Regions from separate parts of the Homo sapiens genome. Here region 2 is linked to region 1. The links are contacts of gene promoters, found by promoter capture Hi-C in blood cells and fetal thymus (Javierre and others, 2016). All regions are on one chromosome and are shown on one strand. Each heading gives the region's core, a stretch centred on a gene start or on the middle of the fragment in contact. The rest is flanking DNA. Distances are from core to core; before and after follow the strand shown.

Region 1 (7,108 bases), core at 3,298-5,797:
CATATAAATGTGGCTTCTTGGGCAAGGAAAGAGGACAATATAGATGAAAAAGAAATTGATCCTACCAGAAGTGATCCTTTTATCTGCATAACTCTCAGGCAGTTGTGGCAAATAATTGGCAATATCTATTGTTCTGAAACTGGTTTTCGCAACTTTTATTGGGAACACCATCCCCTCTCCTGCATGATCAGTTTCTCCTCTCCACGGATCATTCACATGAGTAAAGTCAGTAGCGTGCTGGTAAATGTTTAAGATCTTGTTCTTTGGGGGAAAAAGTTCCTAAGTTCTAGCAGTTGCCCTGGATAACTTCAAGGTATCAACATGGAAGTTATGTACAAAAATGGCTGTCACAAGCCAGTATGAGCTAACACCAACATACTACCCAGTGTTCTTCAAACTTCAGCTCACAGCCCATTAGTGGGGCTTGCAAACATTTTAGTGGACTATAAGCAGCATTTTTTTAAAATGAAAAAGTAGATTGTTTTACACATAACAGGAGTATTGTTTTGTACAATTTTTTTTTTTTTTTTTTTTTTTTTTTAGACACAGTTTCACTCTGTTGCCCAGGCTGGAGTACAGTGGTACAATCTCAGCTCACTGCAACCTCGGCCTTCTGGGTTCAAGCGATTCTCATGCCTCAGCCTCCCGAGTAGCTGAAATTACAGGCATGCGCCACAAGGCCCAGCTAATTATTGTATTTTTAGTAGAAACAGGGTTTCACCATATTGGCCAGGCTGGTCTCAAACTCCTGACCTCAAGTGATCCACCTGCCTCGGCTTCCCAAAGTGCTGGGATTACAGGAGTGAGCCAACGTGCCTGGTCAAAATTTTTGTTTTCGTAATTTTAAGTATGTGTGTAGTAAGTCTCAATGGAAATGTAATTCTTATGGCAGGTCACTTGAAAAAAAAGAAGTCTAAAAGTCACCAATGTAGTATCTTCTCTTTAAAAAAAAAAAAAAAACAACAGGAGAAAACCTGAATCTGCCCTTTGCTCCACTCCTTCCTCAGCTATAATGCTGCTTCTCCATTCCTCCTCACAGCAAACCTTTCTGAAATCTTTATAGTCATGGTTTCCACCAGTTCTTCACCTCCCATTTCTCAACACACTTCAGAGTCAGAGTCAGCAATGACATCCATGTTCCTAAGCCCATTGCTTACTTCCGTCCTCCTTGGCCTCTCAGCACACTTGGCACACAGGCTGTTTCTCTTTCTTTGGCATCTGTGACACCACTCTCAGCAAATTCCCCTGGTTGTCCCTTCTCAGTCTCATTTATTGGCGTTGTCTTATCTCCCCAGGGCTGTCCGAGGTGATTTTCTCCCACTACTCTCCTAGGTGGTGCCATCCAATCTCATGATGTCATATCATTCTTCCCTCATGCTTCAGCCATACTGGTTGGTGGCCTTTGTTTCCTGAACACATTTAATGCATTCTCAAGACCCTCAGGGACTTTGCAGCAGCTGCTCGCTAAGGCTGGAATGCTCTTCCCCACCATCTTCATATGGCTGTTTCCTTTCTTTCACTCACCAGCAGCTTAAACTTTGACTCCTCTGAGAGACTTTCCTTGTCACCCAACTAAGGTTGCCACTCAGGTGCTCCCAATTTAATCTTCTCTAAAACACATCACTGTATGTGTCCTCAACTAGAGTATAAGCTTCCTCGAAACAAGAACAATCAAAACTCCTTGCCCTCATGGAGTTTATAGTCTTATGATGGGTGAAGTAACATAAAATAAAAAGGCACCTTATATAGTATATTAGCATGACAAATGTTAGCCAGAAATAAAGCAAGGAAGAGTTGCTAGGGAGTGTGTATGAGTGTGTTTTGGGAGAGTGTTTGCAATTTTAAATATTGGTGGTCAGGAAGGGCCCCACTGAGAACTGACATTTGAGTAGACTTGAAAAGGGAAAAGGAAATATTGAGTAAAGATTTTAGGATGGGAGTGTGACAGGCCTGCTAGGAGAATAGCAAAGTCGCTGTGGCTGCTGCAGAAAAAGTGAGAAGGAAAGTAGTAGGAGATGAAATCACAGTGTGTGAGGATTCGGGCAGATCAGGAAGTGCTCGTGTAAGAACTGGATCTTTACTCAAAGAATGAGCAAAAATTAGTAGACGGTTGGCCGGATGCAGTGGCTCACACCTGCAATCCCAGGTTACAGGAGGCCGAGGCGGGCGGATCACTTGAGGTCAGGAGTTCAAGACTAGCCTGGGCAACATGGTGAAACCTCATCTCTACTAAAAATACAAAACTTAGCTGGGCATGGTGGCGCGCACCTGTAGTCCCAGCTACTCAGGAGGCTGAGGCACATGAATCACTTGAACACGGTAGGCAGAGGCTGCAGTGAGCTGAGAATGTAACACTGTACTCCACTCCAACCTGGGCAACAGAGTGAGACTGCCTCAAAAAAAAAAAAAAGTAGGTTTTAGTAAGGGATTAACATGATCTGAATTATGTTTTGTCATGACTTCTCTGGCTGTTGTGTTGAGACTACATTGCAGAGGGGCAAGGGCAAATATAGGGAGACCGATTAGGATACTGCAGTAATAATGTAAGAGATGTGGGACTCTATCTAGAAGGGCCCATGAGGTCCTTTGCATGCTAGTATTCTTTACTGCTGTGCCTGGCCATGATAGGCATTCAGTGAATATTTGCTTATTTAAAATAACACACTGGGCTAATTGAACAACAGTGCCAAATGAGGGAGATATTTCTAGGAATAAGTTCTTAGGATTTATGAACATTTTAATCCAGATTTTCTTTGTTAACTCTGCTCTCTGGCCCTTTCACTCAGCCCCGTTTGCACCTAAATATGACTTACAAAAGAAACACAGCATTTATGTGTACTTATTTCAACTTATTTTAGCTTTGTAAAGAAGTACAAGGTTGACTCAGGGCCCAGCTTGGTGTCTCATGCCTGTAATTTCAGCATTGTGGGAGGCCAAGGCAGGAAGATATTGTGAGCCCAGGAGTTTGAGACCAGCCTGGGCAACACAGTGGACCCTGTCTCTACAAAAAAAAATTTTTAAATTAGCTGGGCATAGTGGTGTGCGTCTATAGTCCCAGCTACTCCTGGGGCTGAGGTGGGAGGATCACTTGAGGGAAACCCTGTCTCAAAGTGGCGGGGCTGGGGGGAGACTCAGGCAGAATTGTGAAGATATTCAATTGCTCCTGACTTTATCAATAATCTAACATTTCAACCTAACATTGATATCTATTTTATGCAAAGCATTACACTATGCACTGGAGACTGTATAAGACAAGTTCCTTTTCTCAAACTACAGTCGAGTTGGATAGATAAAACACACAACACATACCAAAAGACAGCTATAAATCCAAGGCAGTGTATGTCAAGGGTAAATTCACCTATTCAGATTGGATCTTGAGAAGTGCATCAGGCTTGGAAAATGGGTAAGGAGGAGAGAAAAGCAACAGTGAATCAGAACATGAGTTCCCAGTTATGGGACTTGTAATGAATTCCTCAATTAAAACAAAAAATAATGAAAACAAAAGCCAGGGAGGAGAAAGCCCACGTTAATGACACTAAAATATATCTTTCCAAACAAATGTGGATAAAAGCCAAGTAGAGAAGATGAGAACTTTGAGGTCCCTAACAGAAAATAAACAGTAAGCAGCCAGCCATTCCAAGTGGCTGACATGACTTTGTTTAACTTTATTTGTATTTCTGGCTGGTGTGTTTACAGCCAATAGGTCAAACTATCAGTCAGTGTAGGGCCCTGAGAAGTCGGGTATTTAAGAGCATCTAATAGGCACAGAATTGTGCTCCATACTGCTTAAACTGTTCCCTAAGTGTCCAATTTGGAGAAAACACCCACACGCAGGATAACTGGCGAGTGACGCGGAGTGGCTGCGAGTCCAAGTTATCACTAACGGATGGGGAGCTTGGGCTGGGCACAGTCCAGCGTACTGAACCCTTCCCCCACCGTTTCACCTGCATACAGAGGTGTGTACTGTCAAAAAGCAGCGCCTCCAAGTCTCTTCTGGCACTGTCTGGACTTGGATCCGAGGCAGACGAGGAAGCTGAGAAAACCCTGGCGTTGACCCCGTGGACCTGGGCGCCCCGGGAAGGCCAGCGCTTGGTCCAGGCAGGCGGGGCCTGTGCGGTGACCACCCTGGTCCTGAAAAGTCCCAGCCCCGAGCGCCCTCCCTCCTAGACCTGGAGGCCTGGAACAGCCAGGTGGACGTCGGCCCACCTTTCTTTTCTTTCCTTCCCATTTTCCTACCACCTCCCACCCCACTCCGCCTTCCGGGCAAAGGCAGCCAGATCCACCCAGGACACATTCTTTGTCCTTATCCCTCTGTGCTCGTCCCACAGCAAGCCAGTCGCGGTCCAAGGCTCCAGAGGCTGTGCAGGAGGCCGAGCTGGGTGGCGATCAGCGGCGGGTCCCTGTCCAAAACCCAGCAGAGCCGCCAGGGACGCCCCAGACACAGAAGGCGGGGCGCGGGGAGGGTGGGGAGACCACAGCAGTGAGGCGCGCGAGCCGGGAAGTGAACGAGGACTGACTCCTGTCGCTTCCCGTAGCCGCCCACGGACGCCAGAGCCGGGAACCCTGACGGCACTTAGCTGCTGACAAACAACCTGCTCCGTGGAGCGCCTGAAACACCAGTCTTTGGGTGAGTCGCGCGACCCCCGGCCTCGGGTGGCGGGGCAGTCGCTAGAGGCGTGGCTGCTCTGAGGGTCTCGCCAGTGGAGGATGGCATTCGGATGTCACGGCTCCTAAATCACCATTTGATGGGTGGGACAGTGTCCAGTCCACCCCGACCCGCCGGTCCTCACCGCGGCAGAGCCGGGGCTGGGTGGCGGGGACGCTGCCTCTGCAGGCGAGGCGCTCCGGGGCATAAGGGATTATCAGGAGTCGCGGCCTTTCTTGGACATCCCTGGCTGGGGTCAGGCTGTTTGCCCTGGGGTGTCTCCTCGCTGCAAACCCACCCCACCTGGGCTGCTTTCTCACCTGTTCCCTCCTAGCCTGAGGCCGAGCGCCACCTCCAAGTGGAGGAATCTGGGGAAGTTTCCTTCCCGGAATTTGTAGTGACAGTGGAGTGACCTCCATTGCGTTCCCTGCCTCTAACACGCTCTTTAGGATGCCGAGTCATTTGACTGCAGTGTTAAACATTGCAAAGCGCAAGTCATGTGACTTCCTTTGACCGTACGTGAAACTTAAGTGATGGCTGCTTGTGATGCATACGAAGTGTTCATGCTGGCGGGACCTGTCCCTGGGGATACTTCGGGGGTTGCGTGATTTAATGCAAGCAGATGGCTTAAATTGGGTCACTGGCTTGTTATTATACATGTGTATGGCAACTCGGCATCCATTCTTTTTGCTCTTGTTCTTACTTCCTGAATTGAGTCACGGAGCCAGAGTTTTGAGGTTTTGACTAACGAATTAAGTTAATGACATGGGGCTATATTTAGGTGGTAAACCAAGAGGGATACAGTTTTTTTTCTTAATAAAGAAAAAGTGATAGATTTGATCGGTGTGTATTGTTGGTGTGCAGTATAATGACAGAATTGCTGGAAGTAAAATACAGGAAGCTCTGGTTTCATTTCCCCTTTAGTTCTGCTTAAAGTCGAGTTTTTCCTGGAGCTATTAAATGTAGTGTAGTGTCCATGAGTGCTTTTATCTTAAAAAATGTGGCTGATGCTTTCCAACACTCCCCTGCCCTGTGATTATTATTTTTTTAAGCAACAGAGAAAACCGTATCTTAATAGTATTAAAAGTATTGGATTTTTCCCTACTTTGATTTGTTTAAATTGGAGGAGGAAGAGCAATTCTTTCTATTCACAATAATAATAGCTAACATAGCGCTTACTCTTTCGCTGTTTTATTAACTCAATCCTCAGAACAAACCAATGATGTGAATACTGTAATTCTCATTTTATGGAAATGAAAATCTAAATGAATACCTCTGGTAATTGTACGGGACTGTTTGATTAGTATTTACCATTAATTAATTAAATTTTTTTTTTTTTTTGAGATGGAGTCTCGTTCTGTTGCCCAGGCTGGAGTGCAGTGGCACAATCTCGGCTCACTTCAACCTCCGTCTCCCAGGTTCAAGCAATTCTCCTGTCTCAGCCTCCTGAGTAGCTGGGACTACAGGTGCATGCCACTACGTCTGGCTAATTTTTGTATTTTTAGTAGGGATGGGATTTCACCATATTGGTCAGGCTGGTCTCTAACTCCTGAACCTCAGGTGATCCACCCGCCTTGGCCTCCCAAAGTGCTGGGATTACAGGTGTGAGCCACCATGCCTGGCCTATTTTAGTATTTTTAATAATAAATTCCATGTTAGAAATTTTCTACTGATGTATTTTTTAAGTCAATATTTCCTACACTCACAATCCAAAATTATTTAGTATATGAGCACACTGGTAAGAATGGGAGGCAGATCGTTGATTGTAATAATATTCTATTATTTGGTAAATATCAGTAACATAATATATAATTTAAATTTTAAAATAGGATATGAAGAAAAATGCTACATGCTTACTTTTCTTTTCCTCTATTTTTACTTTACACAGGGCCAGTGCCTCAGTTTCAATCCAGGTAACCTTTAAATGAAACTTGCCTAAAATCTTAGGTCATACACAGAAGAGACTCCAATCGACAAGAAGCTGGAAAAGAATGATGTTGTCCTTAAACAACCTACAGAATATCATCTATAACCCGGTAACTGATTTCTATAAGATAACTTTTTACCTATGCCAGGACAGATCCAATAGAATATTAATTATCCATTGGGAGACAGGGCAAGAATAAAAGCCAGTGAACATATTTAAAGCACCTACTATGTAATAGAGATGGTGGTGGGTGCTGATTACAAAACAGCTCTTGTCCTCTAGTGGAGGAAGAAGTCACAATGATAATATGACGTGATGAAACAGTGTTATGAACAGGGAACGTCTGGGTAGAGTGGAGGGAATGCCAACTTTTGGTGATGGGAGGAGGCTCAGCTAATCATAAATTGTAGTTTTTAAAGGAAAATGGATTTCTTACTCTACAAGTTTTTCATTTTCTTTTTTAATTAGAGCTGTCCATGAGAAGTTAATGTCTCGATCTTTCCCTCAGCCTTTCAAATACTGCTTGGCCCTTGAGC
Region 2 (6,966 bases), core at 811-3,310, 550 kb before region 1:
GGTGTGGTGGCACATGCCTGTAATCCCAGCTGCTGGAGAGGCTGAGGCAGGAGAATAGCTTGAACCCAGGAGACAGAGGTTGCAGTGAGCCAAGATTGCAGTGAGCCAAGATCACGCCATTGCACTCCAGCCTGGGCAACAGAGCAAAACCCTGTCTCAAAAAAACAAACAAACAAACAAACAACAACAACAACAACAAACCCTTGGGGAATATTATTTGCAAAATAGACAACAAAAGGTTAATTAGCTTTAAAATGTAAAGGACACTTATAAATCAGTGAGATTCTCCCAATTAGAAAAAAGAACTGAGGACTAGAAGGACAATTGACAAAAGAACTTTAAGTGGCTAGTGTGCATTTCAAAAGTTTACCGCAACTTAAAGAGTGTAATTTTTTTTCTTTTTAGAGACTGAGCCTCAGTATGTTGCCCAGGATGGGCCTCAAACTCCTAGCTTCAAGCAGTCCTCCCATGTTGGCCTCCCAAAGTGCTGGGATTACAGGCGTGAGTCACTGCAACCAGCCAATAATGTAAATTTTAATAAACAAACACCACCTATGTAATTGGCAAAAATGAAAAAATAAACTATGCAAAGGCAAAAACATAGGTAAACGGGCCCTCTCCAACACTCCCGCTGGTGGAAGTATAAAGTGGTACAAACTTTCTGTAAGGCAGTTGGGGAGTATCTATTGAAAGTCTTAAATTTTTAAATAATCCTGAGTTGAAATTTATCCTAAAGATATTAATAAGGACACTGAGGGTCGGGCGTGGTGGCTCATGCCTGTAATCCCAGCACTTTGGGAGGCCGAGGCGGGTGAATCATGAGGTCAGGAGATTGAGACCATCCTGGATAACATGGTGAAACCACATCCCTACTACAAATATAAAAAATTAGCTGGGCATGGTGGCACATGCCTGTGGTCGCAGCTGCTCGGGAGGCTGAGGCAGGAGAATTGTTGAACCCGGGAGGCGGAGGTTGCAGTGAGCTGAGATTGCACCACTGCACTCCAGCCTGGGCAACAGAGCGTGACTCTCAAAAAAAAAAAAAAAAAAAAAAAAAGGACACTGATATTAGTATGTGGGTGTTTATTGGTTTATTGTTATTTATCACATCAAAAAACACATAGAAACACCCTAAAAGTTCATCAATAAATGAACTGGTGAGAGTTTATTGTCCATATAATAGAGTATGATACTATTATGTAGTTGATCAAAGTAATGTTCATATGCACATTTATTTAAATGGAAAACAAAAATACGGAAAAGTATCACAGGATCACATTTTTTGTTATATATATATCTTACAAAAATATATGTAAAAGTATTGTGTGTGTGTGTTTACAACATTTCTGGACAAGATTGTAGTGATGAGGCCATTATTGAGTAATGAAATTACTGTTATTTGTTTTTCTTGTGCCTTTATTTTCCAACTTTCTAAATGAAAATGTGCTGAATACAAATAAATAATAATGTAAGATAAAGTAAAAATAAATTTTCATTTAAGGTATTTCTTAAAAAGGGGGGTGAGGAAGGGTATTTAGAGTAAACCAAATCTGGAACTGGACTCTGCTCTGACGGCGTGACCTTTGCCAAGTTACTTCACCTCCTTAACCCTCAGTTTCCTGACTTACTCAATGGGCACAATAAATTCTACTACATAAGGTTATCCTGAGTTAGTTTTCCCATTTCCATCCAGCTAATAAAAGCTTCTTGCTGCACTCTCTCTCCTGAGCCTTCTCCCTTCTCTGATCCCCTTAACAAAGTGGTTCGAAGCAATCATTTAGCATCACCTGTTATTACTACCTGCTTAGTGACTAGACGCCCACTTATTTGCAAAAGCCCTGCATTTTCTGGAATTAGCCTGCTATTCCGTGTTTTCCACTTAGATTCACTCAGAACCTGGTCCATAAGGAGACGTATGCACTTTTGCATACACAGAATACACTCAGGAATACTTCTGTGTTTTCGTACCTCGGTGTAAGATGCTGAGCCCACGGCTGGGGATCTCGTGTGACGAATGTCTGCAAATGTTTGAGTAAGGAGATGACTTGGGGAGGAAAAGGGCTGGGCTATTTGGTGGAAATCTGAATTTAGATGAAGAGGCTTGACCATAATTGGGAAGTTCTTTTGCTAGCAGTTGGGCAACTCACCAATATGAAGAAAGCTCTTGAGTGGGACGATGGGAAGGCCCGAGCATAGCTTCTTTTGGGGAAGTTATCCGGGTAGCCAGGCCTGGGACGCTCCCCGCGCTCCGCCCTCACTTCTCTCTTCCCCCAAAAACAGGCATTGAGAGGCTCTTACTGCCCTCACGTGGCCCCTTCTGGAACTGTCTTTGAGGAGACCCGCCCAGATTTAAACTGAATCACGGGGGCTGGAGAGCACACACGCAGGCTTGCCAGTTAAGCTCATCTGTCCCCACTTAAGCTTCTAGCTACCAGGAAGCCGCTCTTCGAGCCTGTTTTCAAGCCTTTTTGGCCCTTCCGTCTCTTAAGTCCATGTTGTCTGAGCAAAGACCCTTTCTCCGTTGTAAGGAATTCTAAATCCTTTCGGCTGCAGCTTTCAGCAGCGCCTGGCATCCTGGCGGATGAGAAAAAGGGGAAAAACAGCAGCCCAACTTGAGAACCAGAGCTGGGCCGTGACGCTGCTGCGGGGGACTCTGGGTCCCGTCTTCCCCGCTTTCGAGACCTGTGGTCTTCAAATGTGCTCGATAGTACACTCCCTAAAAGAATTTTTGCAAAGTCCTGTTTTTCCCTGTTAAATCAAGTTTAGCTTAAAGCTACTCACATATTTTAAGTTCAGCCTAAAGGTTTCTCTGTGCCTGTAACCTAAAGGGAAGTGTAAATAGTCCCTCTCCCCCTTCACCCTCTCCTCTCCCGCTTTCTGTTTCTGCCTTATCTCTCTGACTCTTCTGCCTCCCTCCTCTGTTTTTAAGGGCCTGCCTGGATAACCCAGGATAATTTGCCTGTTTTAACGTCAGCTACTTAGTCATCTAAATTCCATCTGCAAAGTCCCTTCAGAGCAGTACAAAATTAGAATCTTGAAATCTTTAGAATTCGGCCAGCCACAACAACGATCAGCATTTTGCCAACCTTAGGTATCCAGGAGTTTTTGTTTTTAATTACAGTGATTTTTAAAAAACAGCTTATTTATTTATTTGACAGGGTCTTGCTCTGTGGCCCAGGCTGGAGTGCAGCGGCATGATCATAGCTCACTGTAACCTCAAACTCCCGGGCTCAAGCAATCCTCCTGCCTCAGCCTCCTGAGTAGCTAGGACTACAGGCACTTGCCACTACACCCGGCTAATTTTTAAAAGATTTTGTAGAGATGGGGGTCTCACTATATTGCCCAGGCTGGTCTCAAATTACTGGCCTCAAGTTGTCCTCCTGCCTCAGCCTCCTAAAGTGCTGAGATTACAGATGTGAGCCACTGTGCCCACCCAAAACAGCTTTATTGAGATATAATTCACATGCTATGTAATTCACCCAAAGTGTACCTGCAATGGTTTTGGGTATATTACATTATTAATTTTAAAAATTGTAAAATATGTATATATCATGAAATTTGCCATGTTAATAATTTTTTTTTTTGAGACAGAATCTTGCTCTGTTGCCAGGCTGGAGTGCAATGGCACGATCTCAGCTCACTGCAACCTCCGCCTCCCGGGTTCAAGCGATTCCTCTACCTCAGCCTCCTGAGTAGCTGGGACTACAGGTGCGCACCACCGCACCCGGCTAATTTTTTACATTTTAGTAGAGACGGGGTTTCACCATGTTGGCGAGGATGGTCTTGATCTCCTGACCTTGTGATCCGCCCGTCTTGGCCTCCCAAAGTGCTGGGATTACAGGCGTGAGCCACCGTGCCCAGCCATTAATAATTCTTAAGTGTACAAGTCACTGACATTTATTACATTCGCAATATTGTGCAACCATCACCACTATTTCCAATACTTTTCATTTTCCCAGGTAAGAATTCTGTAGCCATCGAGCAATAACTCTCCATTCCACCTCCCCACAGCCCCCGGTAACCTTTGATCTACTTTCAGTCTCCATGAATTGGTACATTCTAGATACCTCATATAAATGGAAGCGCATATATTGCTTGATAGTTTGTGTCTGGCTTATTTCCCACAGCATAATGTCCTGACGGTTCATCTGTGTTGTAGCATGTATCAGGATTTCATTTGTTAGGCTCAGTGATATTCCATTTTATGTACATAACGTATTTTGTTTATCCATTCATCTGTTGATGGACACTTGGGTTGTTTCCATCTTTTGGCTACAGTGAATGATATTGCAATGGACAGTAACACAGAAGCATCTGTTCCAGCCCTTGTTTTCTATTATTTTGGGTATAGTCCTAGGAGTGGAACTGCTGGATCATATAGTAATTCTATATTCAACTTTTTGAGGAACCACCAAGCTGTCTGTTTTCATTCCCATCAGCAACGGACAACGTTTCCAGATGCTCTCCAGTACTTGTTTTGTTTTGTTTTGTTTTGATAAAAGCCATCTTAATACTGTAAACTGGTGTCAAATTGTGGTTTTTATTTGCATTTACCTAATGACTAATGATATTGAGCATCTTTTCATATGCTTATTGGCCATTTGTATATCTTCTTCATATAAATGTTTATTCAAATCCTTTACTCATTTTTAAATTGTTTGCTTTTGTTGTTGAAATGTAGTTATATTCTGAATATTAATTCCTTATCACATATAGAGTTTGCAAATATTTTCTCCCATTCCATGGGTTGTCTTTTTACTCTCTTGATAGTATCCTTTGATGCAAAAATGTTAATTTTGATGAAGTCCAGCTTACCTGTTTTTTTCTTTCGTTGCTGGTGCTTTTGATATGTCCAAGAAATGTTTGACAAACCCAGTATCATGAAAATTTTTCCCTATATGCTAGCCCCTCAAGGATCAAAAGCAGCAATCAGTAATCAGAACCCACAACCTTGGTTTTTGGAAAACTGGGTCTTTATTGTCCAACCTGGCTCCAGCAAGCCACACTAAGTACCTGAGCTGCTGTCCCCACAACTGACTGCCCTGGGGCTGATCAAGGTGGGTGGTAGTCACCACTAAGTAAAGAGCTGAAATTGACCAAAACTTGCCAGCCTCCTCATCAAGCTTTCTCCTGGGTGCTGCAAGTGTTCCCTAAGATCCTGAATTCCAAAATAGTTGCATCAGACAGCTCTTGCCAGTTCAATTGTTTTAATGGAGGGATAGATTCCAGGAGCTTCTTATCTCCACCATGGAGCTTGATATCGTCTTTGAGTAACCAGATTTTATGGCCAGCATAAAACACTGGAAGTTTTAGCCCTAACATATGTAAGTTGTCTCTTTCAAGAAATTCACACTGGCAGGCTGTATACTGGCTCCACTGATGGTGCCAATTCCCTTCTCTGCAACAACTGAGCTCTGGACACCTCATTCCTGCAACTTCTGAGCCCCCTTCACTCTGTTCAACTCAGAGGCCATTCTCATCCCACCCAGGGGCCAGCATGAGTGGCACTGCCTGTTGGTGGCAGCTTAGAACAGACCAGGGGTCTCACTCCATAGCCAGTGCCAGGAAAGCATCTTTCTTCCTTCTGGAGGTAAAAAGAGAATTAAAACATAGCTTATCTCCAGAGCTGAATCAGAAAACTTTTTCTATTGCCTGCTTGTAGAATATATTTTCTCAATGAAAACAATATCCAAAAGGGTGGCTTGAAATCTATAATATAATTTATTTTTTATTTTTTTTTTAAGTTTTTGAGATAGGGTCTCACTCTGTTGCCCAGGTTGGAGTGCAGTGGCACGATCATAGCTCACTGCAGCCTTGGCCTCCCGGATTCAAACAATCCTCCCACCTCAGCCTCCTGAGTAGTTGGGACTACAGGTGTGTGCCACCATGCCCAGCTAATTTTTTTTTTTGATGTTTTGCAGAGATGGAGTCTCCCTGTATTGCCCAAACTGGTCTCAAACTCCTGGCCTCAAGTGATCCACCCACCTTGGCCTCCTAAAGTGTTGGGATTACAGGTGTGAGACACTGCACTCATTTTTAGGTAAATTACAACCCCTAAGGTTTTTTGTGGTTGAGAAACATACTAGCTCTCATAATACTGGGATAAGAGTTTCTGGGCTCCACAGGTTTTGCAGATTATTAAGTGGCTGTCTGTCTGTCTATCATGAATCAGCCTCCCAACATTAAATCTCTTCATTCAGAAAAGATAGAGGAAGATTTTCTTTTTTAAAAAAAGTTTATTTTCCACACTATTTGTACAGCTGTAAACTCAAGGAATCATCCAATACTTGTACAAATCTGGGAGAACAGTTAATAAGCACCTTCAGTGGTTTCCACAGTTTAAGAATTTACCATTAAAAAATTTTAGAATAAATCTAATAAAATGAATAAAATAGTTATAAAAATCATACAAAATCATGATGAACATTTGATATAGAGGGTTTAATATGAAACGATAAATACAAAAAGTGAGACTAATTTATGGATTTGGGCTACGTAAAAGACCTACATGGTCCTCGAATCTTGTGATTCTTGGGGCTATATTTGCCTCTCAAGACAAACTCCAATTATTCAAGGAAGACTTTCTTTCAATTCAGGTTCCAATGTACTGCAGAAGCAAGTGAGGACAAAGTCAGGAGAAGGTGGGGCAGAGAGGCTGAGTGTACTGGGGTTTGAGGAAAAGAGGAGAGACTCTTTTCCCCAAAGAGAGTATCAGGCAAATTCTTCCATGTTCTCAAGTATAAGTGGTCTTTGGCAAAATGTACCATTTTCTTTTTGGAGTTACTTAAGAGTTTTACTTATTGCTGTTCTTAAATTCCTTCCCCTACCACTTCCTCTTGGGCTTTTTTATTTCTCTTGTTGATCAATCTCTTTTTTGTGATACTTTTCATTGAATCATCTCGACTCCTTTATCCCATCCTTTACTGACTCAAACTCCTTATGCTGAACTTTTCAATCCAAAATTTC

The links. Contacts are between HindIII fragments. The CHiCAGO score rates a contact against its expected background, and 5 or more counts as called.
Region 2: a contact is called between a fragment that was not itself captured here and the fragment with the promoter of LGALS8 in region 1, in 3 of 17 cell types (total B cells, fetal thymus and activated CD4 T cells). The highest score is 5.8, in total B cells.

Annotation. Positions count from the first base shown.
Region 1 is chr1:236,519,435-236,526,542 of GRCh38, forward strand. LGALS8 (galectin 8) reads left to right here and starts at 4,548. Exons shown (of 10, transcript NM_201544.4): 1 at 4,548-4,627; 2 at 6,534-6,681. The coding sequence starts at 6,637. It overlaps LGALS8-AS1 (LGALS8 antisense RNA 1), which reads right to left and starts at 5,074. Exons shown (of 1, transcript NR_034040.1): 1 at 3,635-5,074. RefSeq lists a silencer at 4,841-4,890. The HindIII fragment of the contact is 5,952 bases long and covers 1,650-7,108 here.
Region 2 is chr1:235,969,614-235,976,579 of GRCh38, forward strand. It overlaps LINC02768 (long intergenic non-protein coding RNA 2768), which reads right to left and starts at 2,898. Exons shown (of 3, transcript NR_183724.1): 1 at 2,148-2,898. NID1 (nidogen 1) reads right to left here. Exons shown (of 20, transcript NM_002508.3): 20 at 6,217-6,966. RefSeq lists an enhancer at 2,437-2,486. The HindIII fragment of the contact is 718 bases long and covers 1,702-2,419 here.